Regions from separate parts of the Homo sapiens genome. Here region 1 is linked to region 2. Evidence: promoter capture Hi-C in 16 types of primary human blood cells and fetal thymus (Javierre and others, 2016). All regions are on one chromosome and are shown on one strand. Each heading gives the region's core, a stretch centred on a gene start or on the middle of the fragment in contact. The rest is flanking DNA. Distances are from core to core; before and after follow the strand shown.

Region 1 (6,499 bases), core at 2,906-5,405, 40 kb after region 2:
TGCCAGCATGGAGGGAAGGAAGTGGGGGCCAGGCTGTTCCCCGTGGCATTCCGGGGGCACTTCCCAGTGTCCAGGCCGCACTGCCCAAGACGAATGGAGAAGAGGGACAATGAGAGGCGATCCTCTGCAGGACTATGAGTGGGGTGAAATTCTTCTCCTTTTTGAAACTGCCTTGTTTCAAAATAATAATAATAAATATTAATAATAAAATATTATGATAATATTTTTACAATAATAAGTGAAATGTAGGAAAAAAAACAGTGCACAGGCCTACAGAGGGCTTCCCTTGCCATGCTCTTTTGCTCCAATACTGCATTTCACCAGAGGGTCAACATTCGCACCCCACCACCTGCCATTTGTTTTGCTTTGCAATTGCCCTGGGTCTCTCCATGAGCAGGTCCCATCCCTGGCCATGCAGAATGCCTTCTTACAGAATCCCTGGTAGAGGGCCTTGGGGATTAGACAGTGCAACCCCTCATGCTATGGTTGAGGAAGCTGGGGCCCAGAGAAGAGGGGGATGCCTTGTGCCTTGTCTAGGTCAGTGTGGTGGAAGCACCAGCTTCTTCTGGAAGCCCAGGTGCTGCCTGGGTCTGCCCTTCCCCTCGGCTCCCTTCCAAATCCCAAGCTTCTAGGTCACACGACACTTTCTCTTACTCCCCTGGCTCTTTGAAGGAAATAATGTATACAGTGGGCCATTTCCAGGATGAAGTGCCTGAATTGGCTTAGGTCAGCAAACTACAGAAGAAACAGGATACACTAGGCCCCTGCTTGGATAGCTGATGCCTGCTTCTCGGCCTCCCCCACTTCCCCACCATCCCCCTTCCCCCCACTTCCCCACTCCTTAGTTGCCCTCCCCGAACCAAAGAAGTTTAGTCTAAGATGAAAGTTTACTAGCCTACAAAATAGTTCATTTTGTTTGTTCTTATCAGCCTGCCCAGCTACTTCGGTCATAAATCAAATACTTTATGAGCCCCTGAGCTAGCTAGGATTGCAATGCATTGTGGGCTGCAACAAAATGGAGCAAAACAACCCTAAAAAACCACCTACAGCCCCTGCCCAGCAATGAACAGGCATCATCCGGGAAGATTGTAACCCATAATACTCAGCCTATGAGGAACCAGGGGAGAGACCTGTGCACTAGGGGATAAACTGCTTGTTGAAACTGTGCTGGGTGTGCCTGCTCAAGAGACACCCGATTTTGCAAGACCGTCATCACAAGTCTCACTTTCGCTGTTCTCTGGGTCTCTGAGTCCATTCTTTGGGTTTGGACGGGTGAGTCTGTTTCTCACAACCTGGTGGCCCATATGGGGATTTCCATGCCTGCATGGAGTGAGACTCCAGCTGACAGGGGAGATGTGTCCCACTCGATTTGTGTGGCCCACTCTGTCCAGGTGTCTCAGCTCCCCGAAGAAGCCATAGACAAACCTGAAACTGTTATTCAGGAGACAACTAAAGTGACACAGGGAGAAAAGCAGGCAACCAGGCAACCTCACGCATGAGCCAAGGTAGGAAAATTGATCTGTAAGTACTGCTTGGTAGTTGTGCATTTTCGGAGGTCTTGGGGTGTGTAAGAAACCTCCAGTAAGGGAGGCTGAGTACACAGGGAAAAGCTCAGACACAGAGACTAACCAAAAATGGGAAACAAGAATTCTAGGCCTAGAGAACAGAGGAAAGAGGGAACTAAAGAGAACCCTTCTGACATTCCCCCAAATAGTCCGCTGGGGAGAATGCTGCAGGTTTGAAGGGATAGTCCTCAAACCAGGGACAAGGAAAAGCAAAAGATGATAAAGTTTGTTGTTTTATCTGGCCCAAAAAGCCCATTCGTCAACCTTTGGTCTTTTGGCCTGAGTTTGGCTCAGATGAGGATTGGGTGTGCCAAGCTTTAATTTTCTGTGAATAATAAAACTCCATCCTCACGAGAGGAGACAGGTTATGCTCTTTGTTGGATTAGTGAATTAACCCCCATGTTCCCCTTTAAAAAGAAGAAAAAGAGCATAGTAAAAAGCCCTCACCCAATGAAAAGCCCTGGGATCCCCTAACACGCTTGCCCCCCCATACATCTCAGGAAGAACAGAACAGGGCGATCGGGGGGCAGCAAGAAGGTCGGAGGAAGAGGAATCGGGGGGTCACGAAGAAGCTAAACCCAATGCTTCCTTAAATCCTTATCCAAACTAGAGGAAAGAATTAGAACAATGTAAGAAGGACATTGAGAATTTCCCCGTTCCTTCTAAACAGCAGATGTCTAACAGGTACCCTCTTAGAGAAGTCTCTACGGGACAGAGAGGAGTTGGGTTTGTTGGGTTTGTGAGTGTGCCTCTAGCAAGTACTGAGGTTCAGAATTCTAAAAAGAAAATGAGGCCACTCTGGGAAGACCCCCTCGGTTTAGCAGAGCAGCTAGATCAATTTTTATGACCCCATTTTTATACTTGGGCTAAGATAATGTCAATCATAAATATTCTGTTTCCTGGGGAAGAGAGGGGAATGATTATAAGGGCAGCCATGACCATTTGGGAGAGACCCCATTCTCCCGGGTAAGGAGTCCTGCCAGCTGAGCAGAAATTCCCAAATGCAAATCCCAGAGGGGATAACAATAACCTCAGAGATCAGGCCCCAGTGCAGGACCCAAGGGAACTAATAATTAAAGGGATTAAAAAGTCCACTCTTAGAACACAAAATGTCTTGAAAGCATTCGAGATCCAACAATAAAAAGAGAAGACTCCCTCCGCATTTCTGCAGAGGCTCAGGGATCAAATAAGAAAATATTCAGGATTAGGTCCAGAGCACCCAGTAGGGCAAGGCCTTTTAGGACTTAGTTCTGTGACAAAAGCTGGCCTGATATTACTAAGAAACTGCAAAAGATTGATAGGTGGAATGAAAAACCGATTAAGGAATTACTGAGGGAAGCTCAGAAGGTTTTTGTAAGAAGAAAGAAAAGAGAAACTGGAAAAGGGAGAAAGAGAAAAAGTAAAAAAGAAAATTGGAAAGACAAAGGGGAGGAAATGGCAAACATAGAGGGCCAGAGAGAGAAAGAGTTAAGCTGCTGACCCTGAAGGCAAGGGAGAGGCGGCCACACAACTGTGTGTGGAAGCTGGCTGCTGAAAGCTGTTGATAAAAGTTGTTGCTGAATCTTTGTTGTTTCGACAGAGCTGTCCATCTTTGCAGATTGTCAGGGGCCAGGGCCCAGCACAGTTTAGCTTGTGCCCAGAGAGAGAAAGAGAAAGAAACTAAGTGTGAGGGAAAAAGGAAACAGGATGATAGAGATAGATAGAAAAAGAAAACGAGCGAGAGCAAGAGACTGGAAAAGACAGATCAAAGAGAGACACCAAAGTTAAGACTGGGGAGAAAAATAATGCAAAAGGAAGAAAGAGTACAAGAGGAAGTGAGAGGATGTGGAGAGGTTGGCAGGGCTGGGGGAAGGTTCTAGAGGCTCAAGCAACAAGGAGGTGCTGGGAAAGGGTGCAGTGCGGCCACTGAGGAGGGACAGGGTCCGGGAACTGGGGGATGCAAGTGAGAAGGGGATGTGGAGGAGAGTTTAGGATCAGGCTGCCTGAGGAATAGTGGGTTGCGTACGGCAAAGACTAGATGGCTGTTTGTCAGGAGGGTGTAGAAAGGGTTCAGGATGTGGAAGGGTGAGTGGATGAGATGAGCATTAAGGTTTGCTGCTGTTTCACTGAGAGGCTGTGAGTCCACCAGGGGCAGCCGTCAGTAAGGCTGCAGAGAGGCCGGGGGGCTACATAAGGAAGATCCGAACTAGGGTTATAAACTCAAAGGACAACACGGCCAGCAAATGGTGAGAAGGAGGGCTGCAGGGCTGGATGGGGACTGTGGCTAACTGAAGAGGGCACACCTCTGCAGCTGCTCGACTGTTCTCACAGTGCCAGCCCTGTGTTGCCAGACTGTCTGCTTTGTCAGAGGCCAGAATTCTGACTTTTTATGTGAAACAGGATTTTTAAATGCTGGTGATCAGTTAAAAAAACTTAATAACCCAATACAGGTGATAGAAAATGCCAGTTTGCAATCCCTGAAGTAGAGAGAGCGCGTGCTGGGGAGAAGTCCGCCAGGATGCTTTGAGGTGGGGTGTATAAAAGTTCTGTTTCCCAGAGCTGGGCTGGGCCAAGGGGCGACCCTTGCAGCTGACGAAAAGCCACCAAGTCCCCTCCCAGAGCGGGACAAACCTGGGACCCTTTGCAGTTGCTGGGTCACCAGCAGGGGTGGCGTGGAATACAAACAGTGCAGCTCTCGGCCTGCCAGGGAGACGGATGGTGCCTTCAAAGCAAAGAAGGAGCCAGGGATGCCTTTGCTGATGAGAGTGCCCATCAGGGAAGGCACCACAGGCTGGCAGCTCTTCAAACCAGCAGCTGTTGGCCCAGAGCCAGACCCGGCAGAGCCCGGCTAAAGACACCCTGAAAGGCCAGCTGGTCAGCCCCTTGCCTCCTCAAGTTCCTCCTGGGGTCAGTGGGCCCTGGAAAGGCGCCTAAATGAACTCCAGTCAGTTTCTTACGGAAATGAGAGGAGAATAAGCAGGTATCAGACCATAACTGTTTACATATGATAGAATATCAAACCAAAGTTAGACCAGACCTTAAAGAAATTCCACTACTCGATGGAATGAGGCTGTTTGTGAATAGGCCATCCTGAGTGATAGATGGTAAAAGACACAATGTCCAGGCTGTCATTGATGGAAACAAACAAACCTTATGAGAAAAAGGTAGATTACCCAATAACTGCTCAGCCCAAACCTGTGAATTACATGCTCTTAACCAAGCCCTGAAGCTCATATAAGGCCAAGAAGGCACTGTATATGCTATTTCCAGATATGCCTATGGAGTAGTACACACCTTTGGAAAGATCTGGACAAAGTGGAGCCTAATAAATAGCAGGTAGAAAGAATTGGTATATGGGAAACTGGTCAAACAAGTTTTAAAAAGCCTCCTGCTTCCAGCAGAGGTAGCCATAGTTCATGTAAACGGCCATCAGAAAGGAAACTCTATAGAAGCTAGGGTTAGGGTTAGGGTTAGGGTTAGGGTTAGGGAACAGGCTTGTGGATAAAGCTGCTAAGCAGCCTCCCTGGAGGTAGAAGTTAAACTATTTGGCCTAATCCCAGATATCCCTAAGGTGGTATTAAAACCCCAACTTTCTGAAGAGGAGGAGGAAGAGCTGGGCAAGATAGGGCCACTCAAACTGAGGATGGGAGGTGGGTGCTCCCTGATGGGACCGAAATGATAAGCAAACTCACAAGGAGAGAACTGATATCCATACTCTGTAAGGGAGGTCACTGGGGTCCCCAGGCCATGTGTGATGCAATACTCAAGAATTACGGGTGTATAGGGATCTACACCCTTGTTAAACAAGTGTGTGGGTGTTATGTGACCTGCCAGAGAATAAACAAAAAGGTAGTTAGAAAACAGACTACCGGCCGGGCGCGGTGGCTCACGCCTGTAATCCCAGCACTTTGGGAGGCCGAGGTGGGCGGATCACGAGGTCAGGAGATCGAGACCATCCTGGCTAACACAGTGAAACCCCGTCTCTACTAAAAATACAAAAAAATTAGCCGGGCACGGTGGCGGGCACCTGTAGTCCCAGCTACTCGGGAGGCTGAGGCAGGAGAATGGCGTGAACCCGGGAGGCGGAGCTTGCAGTGAGCCGAGATTGTGCCACTGCACCCCAGCCTGAGCCACAGAGCAAGACTCCGTCTCAAAAAAAAAAAAAAAAAAAAAAAAAGAAAACAGACTACCGGAGGGAAACCTCCTGGGTTAAGGCCATTTCAAAGCATTCAAGTAGATTTTACAGAAATGTCCAAAATAGGGAGACTAACGTATCTGCTGGTAATGGTAGACCACCTCTCCAGGGTGGAGGCCTTCCCCTCCCAGCTGCCACTGCCGGGGATGTGGTCAAAATAATCTTAGAACAAATTATACCCAGATTTGGCCTGGTAGAAAATACTGATTCAGACAATGGGAGCCACTTTAACTTGAGGGTGCTAAAGGAATTATGGAAAGTGTCCCTGCTGGAGACAGCAACACACTCCAGTCTTTCTTCATAGGCAGCTGTCCTTCCTGTTTTGTTTTTTTAATCATAATAAAAGAAATCTCTAAAAACCTCGTTTCTTAAGCCATTCCATGGTCTCTTGAGGGCAGTAAAATGTCTTAAGAATGCCATATCTGATCAAATCACTCTTGCTATAGATTATTTCTTCGTTTTTGGTTTGATGAAACAAATTAAAAACCCTTTTTGTCATACAAACAGATACAAAATCATTTTTATGGTCATGTTATTGGTCAGAAGATAAGTGAATGGGTAAAGAACTTTCAGAAGAGAAAATAAAACAAAGCACAAGAAATAGTGGGATTAGAAAAATCTCTACGCCTACAAAGGTTACTCTTCCTGGAAGTGAGAAAAGAAGATACAAAAGATTCCAACAAGAAGCTTCCAGTAAATGAAACAAGAACATATTTCCCAGAAAACTGGATAAAACTGCATTACCGAATACCCTGGACTA
Region 2 (6,336 bases), core at 111-2,610:
GGAGGAGCCCCTCATCCATTGCAGCTGCCCCTCCTCACTGACCTGAAACTGGGCCCTATCCCCCTCTCAACAACCACTGTCCAGGTGGCTGCCCCCATGCTAGTGGCTGCCCCCATTCCAGTGGCTCTAGCTAGCTAACAGTCTAACTTGCTTGAGTAAATATTTGACAATGTCTAGTTTGATAGATTCTTCAGATGAAATGTCCCTGAATCCAGCATCTCCCTGCCTCTGAAATGGAAAATCTGTACGTGTTTATTTGGTAGATGGAGTACCAACACAGGGGGCCTGAAGCACACGCGTATTCTGAATTCTCATCAGCTCGGAGACCACTGGCTGTGCGCTGGCTGCCTGGCTCCCTCCCACGTGGGCCATGGCCCTGCTGCTTCTCCACGGCCCTGGGCTCTGCCAACTTCTCCCCTCCCCATGCCCACAGCCGCAGTTTAGGGCTTCATCCTTTCTCATCATGGCTGTTAACAGCAGTAGCCTTCTCACCAGTCTCCCTGCCTCCAAACCATCTTCAGAGCCATCCTTCTAGGCTGCTAACTTGGCATCATAGCTCATGTCCCTGCTCACATTTCTCCCAGGGCTCCCCACATCCCTAGTGTGAAACCCAAGTTTCTCAGCAAAGCAAAGACGCCCTGTCTGCTTCCAGCTTCTCTCGCCGCTTCCCCAGCATGGTCCCCCCCTGCAGCCTGGCTCTCACGCCCCCACTTTGGTGCATGCTGTTATTTCTTCCTGCTGCCCAGCCCCAACCCTGCAGGTCTCTGTTTAGCTCTCATCCTCTCTAGGAGTCTTCCCTGACCTCCGTTGTCCCCGGAACCCACCTTCTGTCGACCATTGCGTTTATCTCCCTGTGTCATAACATTTGCCTGCCTGTCTTCCCCACGAGGCTACGGGCTCCTTCAAGATAGGGCAGTTATTTTAATCTCTGCCTCCCTGGTGTATGGGCACCCAATCACTGTTTTGTGGGATGAATGAATGAGTGAGTGAGAGATGACCAGGAATGACTGCATGCCGGCAGCTGGAGAAGGAGCCTCAGTGGCCTGTGCCTTTGGAAGTTCTACCCAACGGCCCAGGATTACTCAGCCTGCTTTGCTGCCAAGATTATCTGGAGCTGACACCGAGACCTGTGATGGACTTGCAAATGGCCCCGAGGCTTCCAGACTCCAGGCAGTGAGGCAGTGTGGAGGGCATAGGCCCCCTTCCTCCCACTGCACATGCAAGTGAGTGAGTGCTGAGAACTAGAGCAATGGGCACCGATTAGACCGCTTCCAGCCAGGCATGACCGGACCTGTCTCAGGAGGTGCTGCTGACGGGCGCGTGGATCACGAGTGGTACCGGTTTTGCTAAGGCCTCCCCCTCTTTCCTGTGAGCTTCTGCAAGGTCTGCAGCAAATACCTCACAAGCGTTGGGGAAAAAGGATGTATGTTCCCTGCCTCTGAAGAAACAGGTACAATCTTGCATAAAATTGCTTGTTAACATTGATCTGTGCGTGGAATCAGTTTGTGTTGCAGGGAAATGAAGCGTCCTACACGCCTGTGATCAAAATGAATTTCATCATCTCAACCTTCTTTTTTTTTTTTAATGATAGCAAGACAGTGTCTGGCAGACAAAGGAACTGGTTGGGAGCTGAAAATAGGTAATGGTAGCAGCAGGGATTTTTAATTGGCTGGAAGAGACGGCGAAGATCTGGAAGGTGAAGCCCTAGCTCGTGCTCCTGGCTGAGACTAAGCCCAGGTTTCAGGATTAGGAAGGAAATCTAAACCACCTATTGCCACGGAATGTAGAAACCCTGGCTTTATTTGGCAGTTGTTGGCTTCTACAATTCAATTAAAAATATCCCCATCCTCCAGAGAGTTATTTTATTCGTCAGAATTCATAACATGCTCAACAAAGGTCAAGGCGTTTTGGCAAAGTGCGATGCGGCTAAGAAAATAGAAGAGAAGGAAGCTGATGCAGGATCTGCCAGTGTTCCTGGTGATGTCATGAGGACGAAGAAACTCTCTTTTGAGGGGGCCTGGGTAGGGCTGGCTGCCACTCACACCTTGAGACTCAGGTACCCAAAGAACTAAGTTCAAACTACCCTTACAATTTAGAAGCCCTGAGCTGATTTTTCTTTTGCTGGGCTCGGCAGCATCCCTGTTTGCTGGTGGGTCTCAAACTGAGTGATGCATTGGAATTGCGTGGCGGGTTTATTAGTGCACGGATTGCTGGGCCCCGAGCCGCAGAGTCTGATTCAGTGGGCCTGGAGCGGGAACTGAGAGTTTGCATTGCTAACAAGCTTCCAGGTGAAGCTGACGCTGCTGGTCCAGGGACCACCTTTTGGAAGCACTGCTCTATGCCAATAACAGTGGGTGGATTAAGAAAAGGCCGTGGAGCTGTTACTTCAAGTCATGGAGCCTCTTGGTGGCTCATTTCCTCACCTTGAGAATGGAGACAACACTGAGAACATCTACTGGGCAGGGGTGTTATGAGTGTTAAAGGAGGCAGTGGGTGTGAAGTTCCTGGTATACAACAGGGCTTAATACATGATCATTTTCATTAGGTGTGGGCTGACCCGCCTGTCAGTGGACAGGACCCCTCCCTGCCCCACCGACTAATTCTGCCTGGAATTGTATCATTAGACAGCCATCCGTCGGCCCTTTAAGATATACATGCACCAGAGAGAGGAAGCTAAATCTGGCTCAGACCTCTTGAGACTTACGAATCAGTTTCTCAGCTGTGCTTTCTTCCCAAATTGAGAGGATCGGGGCATAGCAAATAACGCCAAGGTAAGAGGTGGGAGAGTACCTGATTTTGTTCAATTTCTCTGCCGCTGGCCAGGAGACTAGTCATTTCTTTTCCCCAGGGCCTCAGTTTCTGCCAGGGTAAAATGAGAGGGCTGGACCAGCTGATTGTCTAAGGGGTCTTCAGTGTCATGATTCATGATGGGGGACTGACAAGGACTGTGAGAGCAACCGGACCACAGGGGTCCTGGAATGACGCACGGAGGCTGGATGGTGCAGGGTTAAGGGCTCAGGTGATGAGTCATTGTGCCTGGCTTCAGACCTCAGCCACTGATCAGCTCTGTGACTGTGGGCAAGCTCCCCAACCTCTCTGTTCCTCAGTGCCTTCATTGGGTACAGATTAGCAGCACGTCCCTCCCGGAGTCGCTGTGAAGATGGAACGAGGTTTTGCATGTAAGCCTCTCAGAACAGCACCTGTGGCACACAGCACATGCTGATCTGTGTGAGCTGGCATAATATTTCACGGCCTGCTTGGTCACAAACGGCCCTCCTGGAGATATGACAGCCCTGCCCTGGAGACAGTGACACCCCGGAAGACCCTTCTAGAAGGCCCACGTCCGAGTGGCCTGTTGCAGCCACAGCTATCACACAGAGGAGACTGACTCCTCCAGAGCAAAGGCCTGAGTAGTCAGGGGAGGACTGGGTGGCAGGTAGGTCCATTTTTATATAAAAGTCCAATTTATATGCCAAAGTGACGAAGCCAAAGGGAGTCTCAATCCTGGACTGAAGGTCCCAAGGTCTCCAGCTACAGAAGTAAGTAGGTCTTAAACTCTCACAACTGTTGACTGTTCAGGAGAATCCCTTGTCTATCTGTGGTGGGAGTGGGGCAGGAGAGAGTGGAGAGGTGAAGGGTCAAGGCCATAACCCCAAAGACACCACTTTTGAAGATGTTCTCCTTCCAGCCTTCTGGTGCTGGCAGTGTACCGTTTCCAAAGCAGTGGAAATGACCCTAACTCTTCTATTCCTGCCTGCCTGCACTGGGTCTCTGTCTCTCTCTATCTATCTCTCTCTTTCTTCCTCCTCCCTCCCTCCCTCCCTTCCTCCCACTCTCCTCTCTCTCTCTCTTTCTCTCTTTCTTTCTTCTTTTTTGAGACAGGCTCCCACTCTGTTGTCCAGGCTTCCAGGCTAGAGTGCAGTGGCACGGTCACAACTCACTGCAGTTTCCATCTCCTGGGCTCAAGTGATTCCCCTGCCTTGGCCTCCCGAGTAGCTGGGACCACAGGTGCCCGCCACCACACCTGGCTACTTAAAAAAAATTTTTTTGTAGAGATGAGGTCTCTTTTGCCCAGGCTGGAGTGCAGTGGTGCCGTAAGAGCTCACAGTAGCCCTAACCTCCTAGGTTCAAGTGATTCTGATGCCTTGGCCTCCCAAAGTGCTGCGACCACAGGTGTGAGCCACAATCCCTGCCTGGGCCTCTTTTTATCTCCTCCGGACACATAAGGTCTGCCTGGGCCCCAGCCTGCTCTCCCCTTCCTCATGGGAATTCCTCAGGAATAAGGTAACTGAGATTATACACAGCAATGTGGGCAGGACATTCTCAAATGATTTCTTCCTAGCAATGAAAGGCCAGAGCCTTCCAGACTGTTGAATTTGACAGACAATCTGTCTTCATTTCTAAACGTCCTCTAAGAAGAACAAATCTGTTATACTCTGGCCAACATATTTCCATGGAAATAAAATAATGAAATCTGACCCAAACGTCAAACCCTGATATGTCTTGGAATTTAACAAAGGATGGAGCAGACGCAGTGGAGGGAAGGAACACCCAGGAAGCTTTCTTCCGGCAGCTCAACCCAGAAGCTGCCTTCCTGCATTTCATGGAGATGGTAGACACCAATGCTCTCCACGTGCATGGGATTCACACCAGAAAAAATCATCCAGGCCAGAAAGAGGCCGCTCACAGCCAGCATGGAACGTTCCCCATCCGCTGGACTTTAAACCTGCTGAAGCGAACATTTCAGAAAGGAAATAGAGCAGAGCCAAATTCCCCAGCCATGTGAAAACCGAGAGGGAGAGGCTTCCAGCCCTAGAGGGCCCTAGCTCTGGCTGCTGTCTGGCTCCTGCCGCTGGCCTGCCACCGCGTGACTCTCAGCTTCTGGACCGGGCTTCCTCAGGCTGCAGGATGCTCCCCAGATTGAGCTGACCCCCTTCCCAGCAAAGCCCAGCAAGTTCCAGCAAGTTCTCATTGTCTGCCTAGTAGACCTGAGTTTGAGTCATGTTTGAGGAGGTTTCCTTGTGCGCGGGGAATGGGATGGCGGGGAGTGGAGGGTTCTAATGTCTGTGCTTTTAAGTAGAAAAGATAATAATGAAATAGCTAACATTTAGCCTGTAGTCCCAGCTACTCAGGAGGCCGAGGTAGGAGGAGCACTTGGGCCCGGGAGTTCAAGTTGCAGCGAGCTTTGATCATGCCACTGCCCAGTAGCCCTGGTGACAAAGAGAGATCCTGTCTCTAATAGAAAAAGAAAAGAAAGAGCTAACATTTACAGATAACTTACTAAGCATCAGGCACTTCATGTACATTGAAAACGTTTGATTCATATGAGACAGGTACTCTTACCAGCATTTTACTAATGAGGAAACTGAGGCTGATTTCTTCTCTAAAAACAAACAGGCTGGGCCTAGTGATTCATGCCTGTAATTCCAGCATTTTGGGAGGCTGAGGTGGGAGCACTGTGTGAGGCCAGGAGTTTGAGACCAGCTGGGCAACACAGTGAGACCCCCATCGCTACAAAAATATTTAACAATTAGCCAGGTGTGGTGGCACATGCCAGTGGTTTCAGCTCTTCAGGAGGCTGAGGTGAGGGGTTCTCTTGAGCCTGGGAATTTAAGGCTGCAGTGAGCCATGGTTGCACCACTGCACTCCAGGCAACAGAGCAAGACTCTGTCTCAAAAAAACCAAAAGCGAAACCTTTGCAGGTAAACACTGGAATGGGTGTGGCTCTTTGAGCTCAGAATGCCTTCTATTATTGTCATTTGATAAGGCCTGGTAAGAATACATTCCTTCTTGGAATGTGTCTTCTGTGAAAATAAGATACAAAAGGATGGAGATGTCAGCTTCCAAGAGCGCTGAGGGCCGAATTCTGAAAGCAAATGTCACAGCATTCATGATGCTCAGACACAGACCAGCAGCCGAGGTGGCAGCTGCTCTCTCCCTCCTCTTCCTTTCCGCACAGGCCTGACGGTTGGGAAGCACACCCTTCCCCTCTCAGAGGCTTTCTCATCGGCTCTTCCTCATCGGCTGCTTCTTGGGAGAGTGCTGCGGTTTGGGCTGTTTTAGTCTCCAAGGGGATGGGTGATTTATATCCTTTTATTCGGCAAACAGCTTTGTACAGAATGAATACCGCTTGCTGAATGTCACCAGGCGGGGGCAGGGGAGCCGTATAGAATCCCAGTGAAGCCTTCCAGGCCTGGGCAAAATGGCACCTGGCGACTCGGTTAGTGTGTGTGTTTTCTCCGGCGGGAGTAAGGAAGACACAGTCAGAGTGGAAGGGAAATGCAAAGACTCCAGCGCCCCCCTCCCCTGCTAGTGCCTGCCACTTTCTGCTTCTCC

Evidence for each region. Contacts are between HindIII fragments. The CHiCAGO score rates a contact against its expected background, and 5 or more counts as called.
Region 1: a fragment that was not itself captured here is called in contact with the fragment with the promoter of IQSEC3-AS3 in region 2 in 3 of 17 cell types (M2 macrophages, M1 macrophages and M0 macrophages); the score reaches 5.5 in M2 macrophages.

Annotation. Positions count from the first base shown.
Region 1 is chr12:106,625-113,123 of GRCh38, reverse strand. The region is part of intron 2 of IQSEC3 (IQ motif and Sec7 domain ArfGEF 3); the gene reads right to left. It overlaps IQSEC3-AS2 (IQSEC3 antisense RNA 2), which reads left to right and starts at 1,363. Exons shown (of 2, transcript NR_184284.1): 1 at 1,363-1,505; 2 at 6,247-6,499. The HindIII fragment of the contact is 4,546 bases long and covers 1,883-6,428 here.
Region 2 is chr12:144,193-150,528 of GRCh38, reverse strand. IQSEC3-AS3 (IQSEC3 antisense RNA 3) reads left to right here and starts at 1,360. Exons shown (of 10, transcript NR_033859.2): 1 at 1,360-1,450; 2 at 5,960-6,220. All of the region lies in intron 5 of IQSEC3 (IQ motif and Sec7 domain ArfGEF 3), which reads right to left. RefSeq lists enhancers at 4,363-4,862, 4,863-5,364. The HindIII fragment of the contact is 4,344 bases long and covers 1-2,283 here.